Linked DNA regions of Homo sapiens: regions 1 and 2 are each linked to region 3. Evidence: promoter capture Hi-C in 16 types of primary human blood cells and fetal thymus (Javierre and others, 2016). All regions are on one chromosome and are shown on one strand. The core of a region is centred on a gene start or on the middle of the fragment in contact, and the rest is flanking DNA. Distances in the headings are between cores, read along the strand shown.

Evidence for each region. Contacts are between HindIII fragments. The CHiCAGO score rates a contact against its expected background, and 5 or more counts as called.
Region 1: a fragment that was not itself captured here is called in contact with the fragment with the promoter of RNF146 in region 3 in 1 of 17 cell types (fetal thymus); the score reaches 7.5 in fetal thymus.
Region 2: a contact is called between a fragment that was not itself captured here and the fragment with the promoter of RNF146 in region 3, in 1 of 17 cell types (total CD8 T cells). The highest score is 5.7, in total CD8 T cells.

What each region holds. Positions count from the first base shown.
Region 1 is chr6:130,018,394-130,022,300 of GRCh38, forward strand. L3MBTL3 (L3MBTL histone methyl-lysine binding protein 3) reads left to right here and starts at 188. Exons shown (of 23, transcript NM_032438.4): 1 at 188-271; 2 at 3,834-3,907. RefSeq lists silencers at 668-797, 1,748-1,987, 2,038-2,107 and an enhancer at 2,468-2,527. The HindIII fragment of the contact is 3,997 bases long and covers 1-3,744 here.
Region 2 is chr6:129,491,646-129,495,241 of GRCh38, forward strand. LAMA2 (laminin subunit alpha 2) reads left to right here. Exons shown (of 65, transcript NM_000426.4): 57 at 256-432; 58 at 670-838. LOC102723409 (a long non-coding RNA gene) reads right to left here. Exons shown (of 8, transcript XR_001743860.2): 8 at 837-2,647. Among named protein-coding and RNA genes, the nearest start is that of ARHGAP18, 220 kb to the right of the region's middle. RefSeq lists an enhancer at 1-126. The HindIII fragment of the contact is 1,992 bases long and covers 333-2,324 here.
Region 3 is chr6:127,265,472-127,269,177 of GRCh38, forward strand. RNF146 (ring finger protein 146) reads left to right here and starts at 1,393. Exons shown (of 3, transcript NM_001242850.2): 1 at 1,393-1,454. RefSeq lists silencers at 1,352-1,451, 1,552-1,821 and an enhancer at 2,022-2,081. The HindIII fragment of the contact is 5,432 bases long and covers 321-3,706 here.

The DNA.
Region 1 (3,907 bases), core at 496-2,995, 2.8 Mb after region 3:
AAAAGATGCACCTGAAACAGGATCTGCGGGCAGCTGCATTTGCCACCCGGCTTTATTGCTGCTTTCCAGCGGCGAAGGCGCAGCAGCAGTAACAGGGAAGCCAGAGCGAGCCTCCCCGGCAGCGGCGGCGGCGGCGGCGGCACCGGCACCAGCGCAGTTTCCCCTCTCCCCAGCCCTGACTCTACGCGCACATGCGCATTGCGCCCGCAGCCCTGGACCATTTGTCAGGACTACTCGTGAGACGGAGAAAAAAAAAAGAGAAAATTTGGGGGTAAGAAGCGGTTGATCGGATCTAATCTCTAATTAATCTGAAGATTTGTCCGTGCAAAAGCCATTCATTTATTTTTCTGGGTGAGGATGAAAGTTAAGAGCCCTATAGAGGGAAGGAAGCGCACCCTCGTCTTGTGAAACAGATCAGGGGAGGGGAGGGACAGAAGGGGTTTCTCCCCCACTTCTCTGCGCCTCTGGGAAAGAGGAGAAAACTTAATCCCGGGGAAAAAAGTGGGCAAGTGACTCGGAAACGGCTGGAGGGGGAGTCTCTGGGCATCTCACTCTGAAGTAGTGAGTGCGAGTGTGAAAGAGGAACAAAAGAGAGAGAAAAGAGAAAGGAAAAAATGGGGGGAGGAGAGACTTGTATTTTTTTCTTTGCGCGCACACGGGGAAGGGTGTGGGGGGCCGTGCGGAAGGGAGCCGGGGCGAGGCGGCCGCGTTGGGCTCAGGCTGGCGCGCAGGCGGCGGGATGCGTGTGGCCCCCTCCCCCGCGCCCCCCGAGCTTGTCACTTTGGTCGCTTTCGTGACACCGGGCGCGGGGTGGGGGAGCGCGGCGGCGCCGGGCTCCACCGGGGTGCGTGTCCGGGTGGGCGCCGCGGAGCCGCAGCCCAGGCGGCGAGCGCGGCCGCCGAGGCGGGGGGCGCCGGCGGGGGGCGCGGGGGCGGCCGGGGCCGCGGATCGGTGCGGCGGGAGGCGCGAGCCCCGCGCGCCGCCCCTGCGGCCCCCTCCGCCCGTGTGGCCTTTGTGCCGGGCGCGCACCGGAGAGCGAGCGAGCGGGCGGGCGAGCGCGAGAAGTACAAGTACGGGAGACCGAGGCAGTGGGAAAAGAGGCCGGGCCACTTTCTCCCCTTTCGGGCTGCGGAGAATGGACTGGTTGAATGTGCAGGCGCGTCTCCCCGGCGTGTGCTGTGTGTGTGCGCGGCGGAAAGGCCTGCCCGACTCCCACCGCGCACACGCACACTCACACGCACGCACACACACGGACCCGCGGCGGGGCTCGGCGGCCGAGAGTTTGCGTGGCTTCCTCGCCGCCTCCCTCTTCCCAACCGAGTGTGTGAGAATTTCATATAGATCAGCTCCAATTTCCGCCATTTTGGGAAAGTTGCACAAAAATAAACCCTCCGGTTTATTTCTGCCCGAGGCAGGAAAGTGCTTTGGGAAGCGAGGCGGCGCGGGCCCGCGGCGGCCGTCCGCGCGGGAGAGGGCGCGGGCCGCGGGCCGGGCCGGGAGCCCGCGCCGTCGCGGCGTTCGCCCCGCGCCGTGCCGCGCCGCGCCGGCCCGGGTGCGGGCGCGGGCGCGGGCGTGTGTCGGGAGGCGGCGGCGGCGGTCGCGGCGGCGGCGGCCGCGCCGGGGCGGCGGGCTTGTGGGGGGAGGGTGGGGGCGGCGCGGGGCTGCTTTTCCTGCAACTTGTTTACGCCTGCCTTATTCTGGGGAGGAAAAGAGGGGTCGGGGCCGGGGCCGGCGCCGGGGCCACCGCCCGCCTCGCGCCGCGTGTGTGTGCGGTTCCGGAATAATGGGCTTTGCACACTCGCGTCCTGGGCCCCGCGGGCCGTCCTCGCGCCGCGGCGGCGGGGCGGGGGGAAGTAGAGGCCGGCGGGGGTGGGGATCGGGAAGCGCAGGAGCCGAGGCATCCGCCGCGCGCCCCGCGAGCTGGTGGAGTGTGGGGGCCGCCGGGCGGGGAGAAAAACTTGAGAGCCCTGGAAGGGGAGGAGGGCACGGTGGCACGGGCGGGGGGAGGGCGCAACTTTTGGACTGGTGGTAAAACTTTAATTACCTTTAAAGAAAAAAAGGCCCTGCGATTCCCCCCTCCCCCAGTCCCGGTCAAAGCACAGCCCGCAGCGCGACCGTGAGAGAAAGTTTAAAAGCGGGCGTGTTCCTCCCGGGTCCCCGCGGAGGGCTGGGGGCGTCGGTCTGTCCGTCGCGCTCAGAGGGAGGTGGGGGTAACTAGCCGCTTTCCAGGGCGCGGGGACCGCGGCTCTACCCCACCCTTCCACGGGAGACGGAGGTAAACGTTGCTTCGGTTTCCCTTCTGAGTCCCCCTGCTGCCACCACCCCGCTTCCTTTTCCTCCCCCTCCCCGCCGATTTTTTGAGGGGACCCGAAAAACGGAGTCCCTTTCCTTAGGCAACTTCCTCGGGCGCTGTGAGCACGGCCCTCCCCCTCACCGCCCCCACCCCCAACGCCTCGCATCCCTTGGCCCGCTTCTCCACCTCGGGGCCACCGCCAGAAAAATGCATTCGAGATCATTCAGAGTGCACAGAAACAAAAATAGATTTTTAATTGTTAGGTTAGGGGAAACTGAGATGAGAAATAAGAATTTGGGGTGGGGGGGCGCGGCCGGGGCGAGTGCGTCCAGTTCTCCTTTTGGTTTTCCTAGAGCGTTGTTTGTGATGTCTTTATTGGTTTAGGGAGTCCGAGAGGCTCTATGCTGGCTATCTCGGTCGCGTGGATTTTTGCGCAAGTTTTTAGAAAAACACTGACTCGAGTAGAGAGCATTTCTCCGGAAAGTTTCAAGTGCAGCAAAATAGCGAACGTGCAAAACTGGCCAAGGGGAGACCTCTAGTGGTTGAACGCGTCTTTTAAGTTCGGAAGGCCGAGAGCAAAGTTTGGCCTTTACTCGTAGCTACGTAGTCCGTTCAGACGTGGAAGTAATTAGAGGACCTGAGCGAGCAGCCAGATGTTGTGTGAAAGGATGCTGATCAGAAATTGAAAGTTTAGTAAATCGAAGCAATGAATTCTGAGGACTCAGACCCTGTAACTTCCATCCGACATGAGTTATATGGGAAAGACACTTTGCTTTTATTCAGAGATTTGAGATTGATCGCTCCCTGAATTGGAAACAATTGTTTGCTTTTGCATTTATCGGTGTCTGTACCTCTGATCAATTTTTAATTAACGAGTCTCAGCTGATGACTTTATTTTGAATGTTAAGAAAACTGCTAAGTTGAAATGTGTTTAAAACTTTGAAGAAATGGAAAAGACCTTTAGTTGAGATTTGTCTTTTATATGAGCTGTTCATTTTACTGTCTGATAAGTGTAAGGCAATTTTATATAGTTTCTTAGCTGTATAGTTATGTATAGTCCGAGTAAGTAGTCCCTTTTGGTTCTAAGACTGTAATTTTGTTTCACTGAGTACGAAATTATTTCTGAATACTTGTATAATTTGTGATTTAAAGTCCTTAAATACATGGGCAAAAATTTTATGTAATATCTATTCTTTTTCCAGTGTGTTTTCTGTAAAATATCTTTAATTTTAAAGATAAAAGCAGTGAGGGAAATTAAAGTTGACTCAAATGATCCTTGTAACTTTCACCTGCCTGTCATATACAACAGGAGAGACGTTATTGGGTGAATTTAGGACATGGGAATGATACGAATGATTAAAATCCATTTCAACTCATCTAGAACCAGCTTATTTTATTTTAATTTACCGAGTGGCATGGTGTAAAATTATGCCTAAGTGATTCAGAATGTAAGCTTCTTAACTGGGGATGGTGGATTTGAAGGTTTCTTTTTGATGACAGTGTTTTGATTTTACCTTCCCTCTCTTTAAACCAATGCTAGAACCCTTAGGAGAAATCTTGAGAGTGGACAGCAATTGTGAAGATCGCCAGAGAGTTCTGTGTTTCATCACCGCC
Region 2 (3,596 bases), core at 79-2,578, 2.2 Mb after region 3:
GTCAGCTCTACAAGAGGCTAATGTTGCAGTGCGCCATGACCTGGTTTCAGTAAACTTTCAGGAAGAGTGAACGAGGGAGTCATGGAACGAGATCCTGAGAACAGCGTTTGCTTAGTGTAGAATTCCTAAGCATCCAATTTTGGCTCCCTTAAAAGCTATGGTTGAGAGGGGTGAAGGGTGGCAGGAAAGAATTTGATTTCCAACTGTATTGAATCAGATGTGACTTATACTTGTTTATTTTTAATATTTTATCAGCATCTTTACAGTTCAAGTGGATGAAAACAGAAGATACATGCAAAACCTGACAGTTGAACAGCCTATCGAAGTTAAAAAGCTTTTCGTTGGGGGTGCTCCACCTGAATTTCAACCTTCCCCACTCAGAAATATTCCTCCTTTTGAAGGCTGCATATGGAATCTTGTTATTAACTCTGTGTAAGTGGATCTCCTCATTACTACTACTAATTTTTTATTTTTATTTCTTGCTATTAGGGGTCCCAATGCATCTACATTGTCTACAGCTATGCAGGGGAGGAGGGAAACAATGAGGATCTTCAACTTAGACTGAGAAAAGCACACTAATGGACTTAAAAAGGCATGCGGGGATTGGGCTTAATTGTAAGGAAGCAAAAAAACGAAAATAAAAAAATCTTATTTATTACATTCTATTAGCCCCATGGACTTTGCAAGGCCTGTGTCCTTCAAAAATGCTGACATTGGTCGCTGTGCCCATCAGAAACTCCGTGAAGATGAAGATGGAGCAGCTCCAGCTGAAATAGTTATCCAGCCTGAGCCAGTTCCCACCCCAGCCTTTCCTACGCCCACCCCAGTTCTGACACATGTAAGTGTTTATATTATCCCCATTGCTTTCTAATTTTTACCCAGTATTCTGAGTCATTTCAGAAGGAAGATTATTCAGGATATCTAGTACACTCTGATATTAGAATTGAAAGAAATATAACCTATCTAAACCTATTCTTACATCTTCATTGAATGACTTACCTATATTTCCATCTTCAATTTTGTTTACAAAACAGTACATTTTCAGTTGAAATGTTGGAAAACACAGAAATATCCAGAATCATGAATAAAAGACACTTATAATACCATGACAGAGGCAACCATGTTGGTTTCCAGGCCCTTTTATCTGCATAGTAGATGTCCTACCTTGTATACAATTTGGTGTCCTGTTTTTAGAAACTAGTAATACACCACTAAAACTGTTTCTAGGCCAGGCGCGGTGGCTCACGCCTGTAATCCTAGCACTTTGGGAGGCCAAGGCAGGCAGATTGCCTGAGCTCAGGAGTTCGAGACCAGCCTGGGCAACCACGGTGAAACCCCGTCTCTTCTAAAATACAAAAAAATAGCCTGGCATGGCGGTGTGCACCTGTAGTCCCAGCTACTCAGTAGGCTGAGGCAGGAGAATCGCTTGAACCCAGGAGGCGGAGGTTGCAGTGAGCCGAGATCACGCCACTGTACTCCAGCCTGGGCAACAGAGCGAGACTCCATCTCCAAAAAATAAAAATAAATAAATAAATAAAAACTGTATCTAAACATCATATAAATGTGTATGTCTAATATGATTTTATGTTAAGTATATATACACACAGAGACACACAACTATTTTATAGTATTGGAGGTCATATAGCCTTGATTAGAGCATGGGCTCAAGTCAGACTGCTGGTATTCAAATCCCAGCACTGTAACCGACCATCTGTGTGAATTTGGGAAAGCTACCTGTCCAATCTATTTCTCAGTTTCCCATCCAAGTACTAACCGGGCCCAACCCTGCTTAGCTTTTGAGATCAGAAAAGATCGGATGCTTTCAGGGTGATTTGGCCATAGACTATTTCTGTTTCCTCATCTGTCAAATGAGGATATTAACAGCACAGACATCAAAGACTTTGTATCAGAGTTTTAAAAGATAATGTTTGTTCAATGACTCACATATACTGAACGTTTAATAAATGGCATAAGTACTATGTAGTAATGATAATAATGAGTACTTTCACCAGCCCAGGGCTAAACAATTTTCATTCAATATTATATGTAATTCTCATAACGGCTCTGTAAAATATAGTCTTTCTACTTTTAGTCGAGTTAATAAGAATTAGCTATCTTAAGCAACCAACCCACTCACACCACTAGTAAAAGGCAGAGTAAGAATTTTATTCTAGCGAGTCAGACTCCAAAGTCTGACTCCTTATCTCTGGAACACTCTGCCTTTCCAATTTATTCTACTTTTAATAGACCATGGTAGGCTATTGAGAGTGTTTCCAGTTTTTCACTATTAGAAACTATACTCTGATGAGCTCCTCTATGCATCAAGCTTTTTCATTATTTCCAGTTATTCTTAAAATAGATAAGTAGTTAGGAAATTATAAGGCCAAAAGATGAATATGTCTAAGGTTTTCAATACACATACCTGAATTGTTTCTTCCACAGGCTATGCCAATTTACATTCTTATCACCAATACAACAAAGATGGTCACAGTCACTACACTCTTTACAGCTCATGTGTTGTGGTTATATTCCATACCAGTAATGGGTGGGCAATGTTGTCTTGAGTGCAGATCTTGAAAACTCTTGAATATCTCATTCTCTTCCTTAGTGTCCACGATGGAATTGGTTGAGCAATGTGCTCCTTGCACTAGAAATAGTTATTCAATGAGAGGCCAGATAACCATCATTCAAGAAAACTGGTTATTTACTCCAAGCATCCTTTCATCCTTTGTAAAATAGAGATATTTCATCTATCTTGCCTACAACATAGAGTTATGAAAAATCAAATGGGATAATGTATGCGGAAGTTATCTGAAAACTGGAAAAAGCATACCCACATAGACACTCTGAGGAATCCCTGCATTTAGTGAATAACTACTATGTGTCCAGTACTCTGCCAGGCATTTCATATCTGTTATTTCATTTTATTCCCACCCTATTGTTTTATTTACATTTATTTATATTGCCAGAAGTATTATATTTCACAAAGGAAAATACCTAAGATCACACAGCTAGCAAGTGGAAAGCTGTCAGTCATGGGGGGTTAGTTCCAGGAGTTGATTTCATCCTAAAGCATTCCTGAGATCTGCCACATGGATTTCAGAATGTTTCCTCAGCTCTTTCATAATTCAGCCACAGGTTAGATCTTTGCTTAGCAAAGGTAAGGTTAATGATCCTCCTCTTCACCCTCATATACCTGAAAATCATGTGTTTCTCAGACTCATAAACATGTTTTCAGTTGAAGAATTAGAAAACATCATGAGTTGAATAAACTTTTTTGACCTTGGATCCTAATGTCCACTTATAAAAATGTTTCTAGGAGAAAACAGCCTAATTTCTAAATGACTAACTTAAAATTATAAACTAAAATTGGCAAGAGCCCTAAAGATCATCTGGTCCAATCACCATCTTAATGCATGGGTTCCTTTTACATGATACTTACAGCCTTTGCTTGAACATTTCATTGACAAGATTTTCCAGTGTTATGACAAGGCAGGCTCGAGTTGTTAGAAAGCCATCGGTTACATTAAGTTAAAACTGAGTCCCTAAAACTTCTATGTAATGATTGTATTTCTATAGGCAAACACATTACATTT
Region 3 (3,706 bases), core at 143-2,642:
GGTATGAGTGAGAAGGGGTTGAACTAGCTGACATCTTACAGTCTGTGCCTGGATTCAAATCTCAGCTGTGTGTGTCTCTCTCTCTGTAAAATGGGAATAATAATAGTGCCTACCTCATAGTTTATTATGAGAATTAAGTGGGTATATATGAATAAAGCACTTAGAGCAACACCTGGCACATTGTTAGTTAATATTAGCATTACCTCTTCAAGCTGGAATCTTCGAGTACATATCAAATTTTAGCTATTCTCTGTTCATGGGCTGTGTAGGATAGAGGGACAAAACTGAGTGGCTAATAAGAAGATAAAGATAGAAAACTAAGCTTAAAGTTAAAGGATATACACTTCAATATTTCTACATGTATGGAACAGTATTGCATACACGCGCAAGCATCACTGAACTAGATGCACCCTTCAAGAGATTGGGTTACATATTGATATATATGAATGAGAACCCTGAAATAAACTGATTTCAGAGGAATAACAGAAAACATATACATTTCTATACCTATAAGGACACTGAAAACTTCCAATCCTGAATCAAACAGTTAATGAAATCCCAAAATGCAACACTAATGCAAATGAGAAGACGCTGTCATAGAATGTTGAAATACATACTCTTCTAAAGATAAAAGGTCTGCTCTTCCACCCTCTTCATTTTCCTACAAATTAGGAAAATTTAATCAGTTCTGAAAAAGGAAATGTACATGCTAAAATGGTGAATTACTGCTAGAGTTCTGATGTTTAAAACCACAGGCTTGCGATCAAAATAACCTCTTTAATTTTAGATTATCATGCAGATTAATTTCTTCAGTTTCTCAGGCACTATTCTGTTTTTTTTAAAAAAAGGGTGGGGTTTCAAAAGAAAACTAATACTCATTTTTTCCCCGATTAAATTGCTCAACCATTAAAAAGGAGAACAAATTGGAAAGTCCTACAGTACTCTCTCCCCTCCGTCCCCCCCCTCCCCATTTTTTTTCTTGAAAGGGAACAAGCAGTACTTTTGCTAAGGGATCTTTAAGCCGAAACTCAGCTAGGCGCCCCAGAGCTTCCTCAGGATAGCAAAGCTGGATTTTTGAGCAGCACCACCTGCTGGTCCTACACACGTTTTACTTCCTCCACCCCAAATCTCTTTCTGTTGGAACTGCACTCTTTCAGAGCCTCTGGGCCCTAATACAAAGCAAGCACACTCTAAAGAAGCCAGAAGAATGCAAGCAGCGAAGTCGCCGCTCCCCACAGGCAAGAGAGTACCGGCAGACAGCGGCGCGAGACAGGGGCAGAACGATGAGGCGCCGGAGTTAGCTCGCCGGTGCGGGTGCGGGTGCGCGGCGCGTCGCGGCCCCTCCTCCGCGACGCGCCGGGTGGTCACGTGACGGCCGCGCGCGTTCCCGGCAGCTGCGGGCTCCGAGGCCAGAGAGAAAAGACTGCGAGGTGGCCGCAGCTGTGGCCGGAGAGGTGGGAGTCGGAGCGAGGCCCTCTCGGGGGAGCAGGGTGAACGCCGGCCACTCTAGGATCCTCACTCGGGGAGAGGAGGCATAGCTCGCGGTGTCACCTCCAGCCGCAACGTACTCCGGGTCGGCCTTGCGCTCGGGGCCTGAGAGGGGCGGCGGCGGGGTCAGGGGCCGGTACGTAGATGGACGCCCTTGGGCTGGCGCGGCCCCGGCTGTCCGCGCAGAGGCGGGATGGGACAGTTCAGCCCTTTCCGCCACCCCCGCCTTGGCTGCTGGGGCAGGCAAGACGACCGTGACAGCCCCTGCGCTGCCCGAGGGCGCCGCAGCCCCTGCCCTGGGTGACGGCCGGAGCTGGTCTCGGTCCGGGTGCGAGGGGCGGAGCAGCGGCCATTACTGCGCAGCCTCTTCCGCCTGAGCCCGCTTCGCTGCCTCGGGTGGCAGGCGGGTCCCTCTCCTCCCCTCTGGGCCGTGGTTTTAGGCCTTTACCCGGGGACCTTCTGGCCTCGAGGTGTAGGGGCGGCGATGGTTTTTCGGCGGTAGCCTGCTCCATGTTTTCCCGTGTGGGGTCAGACAGTTTGGGCCTTGGGTCAGATCGAAGCCAGGGCGTACAGTCTGCATTTTTGCCTTTTCCCGGAGTGTCTCTGGCTGCTGCTTTCTCTTCTCTCGCTCTTCCTCCTTTTTTTTCTCCTGCTCAGTGTCTCGGTCTTGCCTAAAACGAAGAGAGCAATCCCTGCACCTTGTCCTAGTGAAGCCCAGCGCTGCATATTCTTAGTTGTTTTTGACGGCTGTTGAAGCATCGGAACAATTAAGAGATCTCAGAATATCCCTTGAGCCTCCAAACCCTCTGCATCTTAAAAGCTGAGGCTGTTGCTTTGTTCTGATTGTTGGGTGGGGAGTTCTCTTCCTACCCTCCATCCCGTCTGAAGGAGTGTGGGTCTTCCATTGTTGTCGCTATTTATTTTGCTAAGGCTTCTAAAGAATGTAAAATTGTTTTAAGAGTGGAGACGGAACCGTCCTCTCCACAGGTAAAACCTACAGGACTGTAAGTTTACACACACATCCTGGCAACTAGAATCTTTTCTCGTTAATCATATTGGTATATGTTTTAATTTATTTTCTCTAAGTGCCATTTTAGTGAGCACTTATTTCTCAAGTTTTGAACATTTTGTTTAATATTTTTGTAATATCGAAACAGTGTAGAACTGAGGAGAGAAGAAAGCCCAAAGATGATAGGGTACGCTTTGTTCTTTGTATGATTGGCATTTCAGGTAGTGGGCACATCCCCCCCACCTCGTGTGTGTACTTTTCAAATGGGATGTGAACGTATAATATTGGCATTCAATCCAGTATATAATTATAGAATTTGGAAGACTTAGGACATTTTAGTCAGTGAATCTATATTTAGACTTTTCAAAGACATGGCACGTAAGGACACGTGGAGAAAATGTCCCACACAGATAACAGGATTTGTGATTTTGGCTTTGCTGTTTTATGATTAGCAAATATTGTTTGTATAGAGTGTCTGGGTGCCCTAAAAACACATGAAAATAGGTCAACTAAATCTCGTTTTAAAGAGAAAACCGGAAGAGTGAACACCACTCTAAAAATAGATTTTGGATGTGTTTGTTTTGGTGCCTTGTATATCTTAAAGTGGAGGATGTTGTTCAGCCCAATCTTTCATTTAGAATTTATGTCTCAAATGAGCCAGTGTATCATGTGGGCAGACTGGAAATACATTTAAATATTTTTTTTCTTCGCTGGTTGTTCAGAACTTGGTAGAATTATAATTATCAGGAAAACTCTCTCCAAATAGCTGGTCTTTTAGACAAGAGAAGAAAAAAGAAATAACTTCTTTTAAAAGGAGATGTCAACTTACAAAGTGTTTTGTTTCAGTCTCCACCAACCTAACTTGTCAGAGGAAAGGAACAGACTTTTTTTTTTAAAGGATCCAAAACGATATTTTGAGTCAAAAGAAGAAAAGGATATTAAATCTTTTGTTTTCACAATATCGATCTTTTTAAAGAATATTATTTTATATGTTAACCATATACTACCAGGAAACATCTAACAGCACTGACAGTTGGGAATTCGAATGCGTATTTTTCTCCCGTGTTAGTAATAGAAGGTACTGAGCCTTTTCCATTCTCTTGGTTGCCTTGTGCCTGAGGAATCTGAATTTGTGAAACAACATCTTTGTGGATATAGAAACTAATTTATGTAACACTTGGCTACAACCACCTGTGCTTACTTACGGAC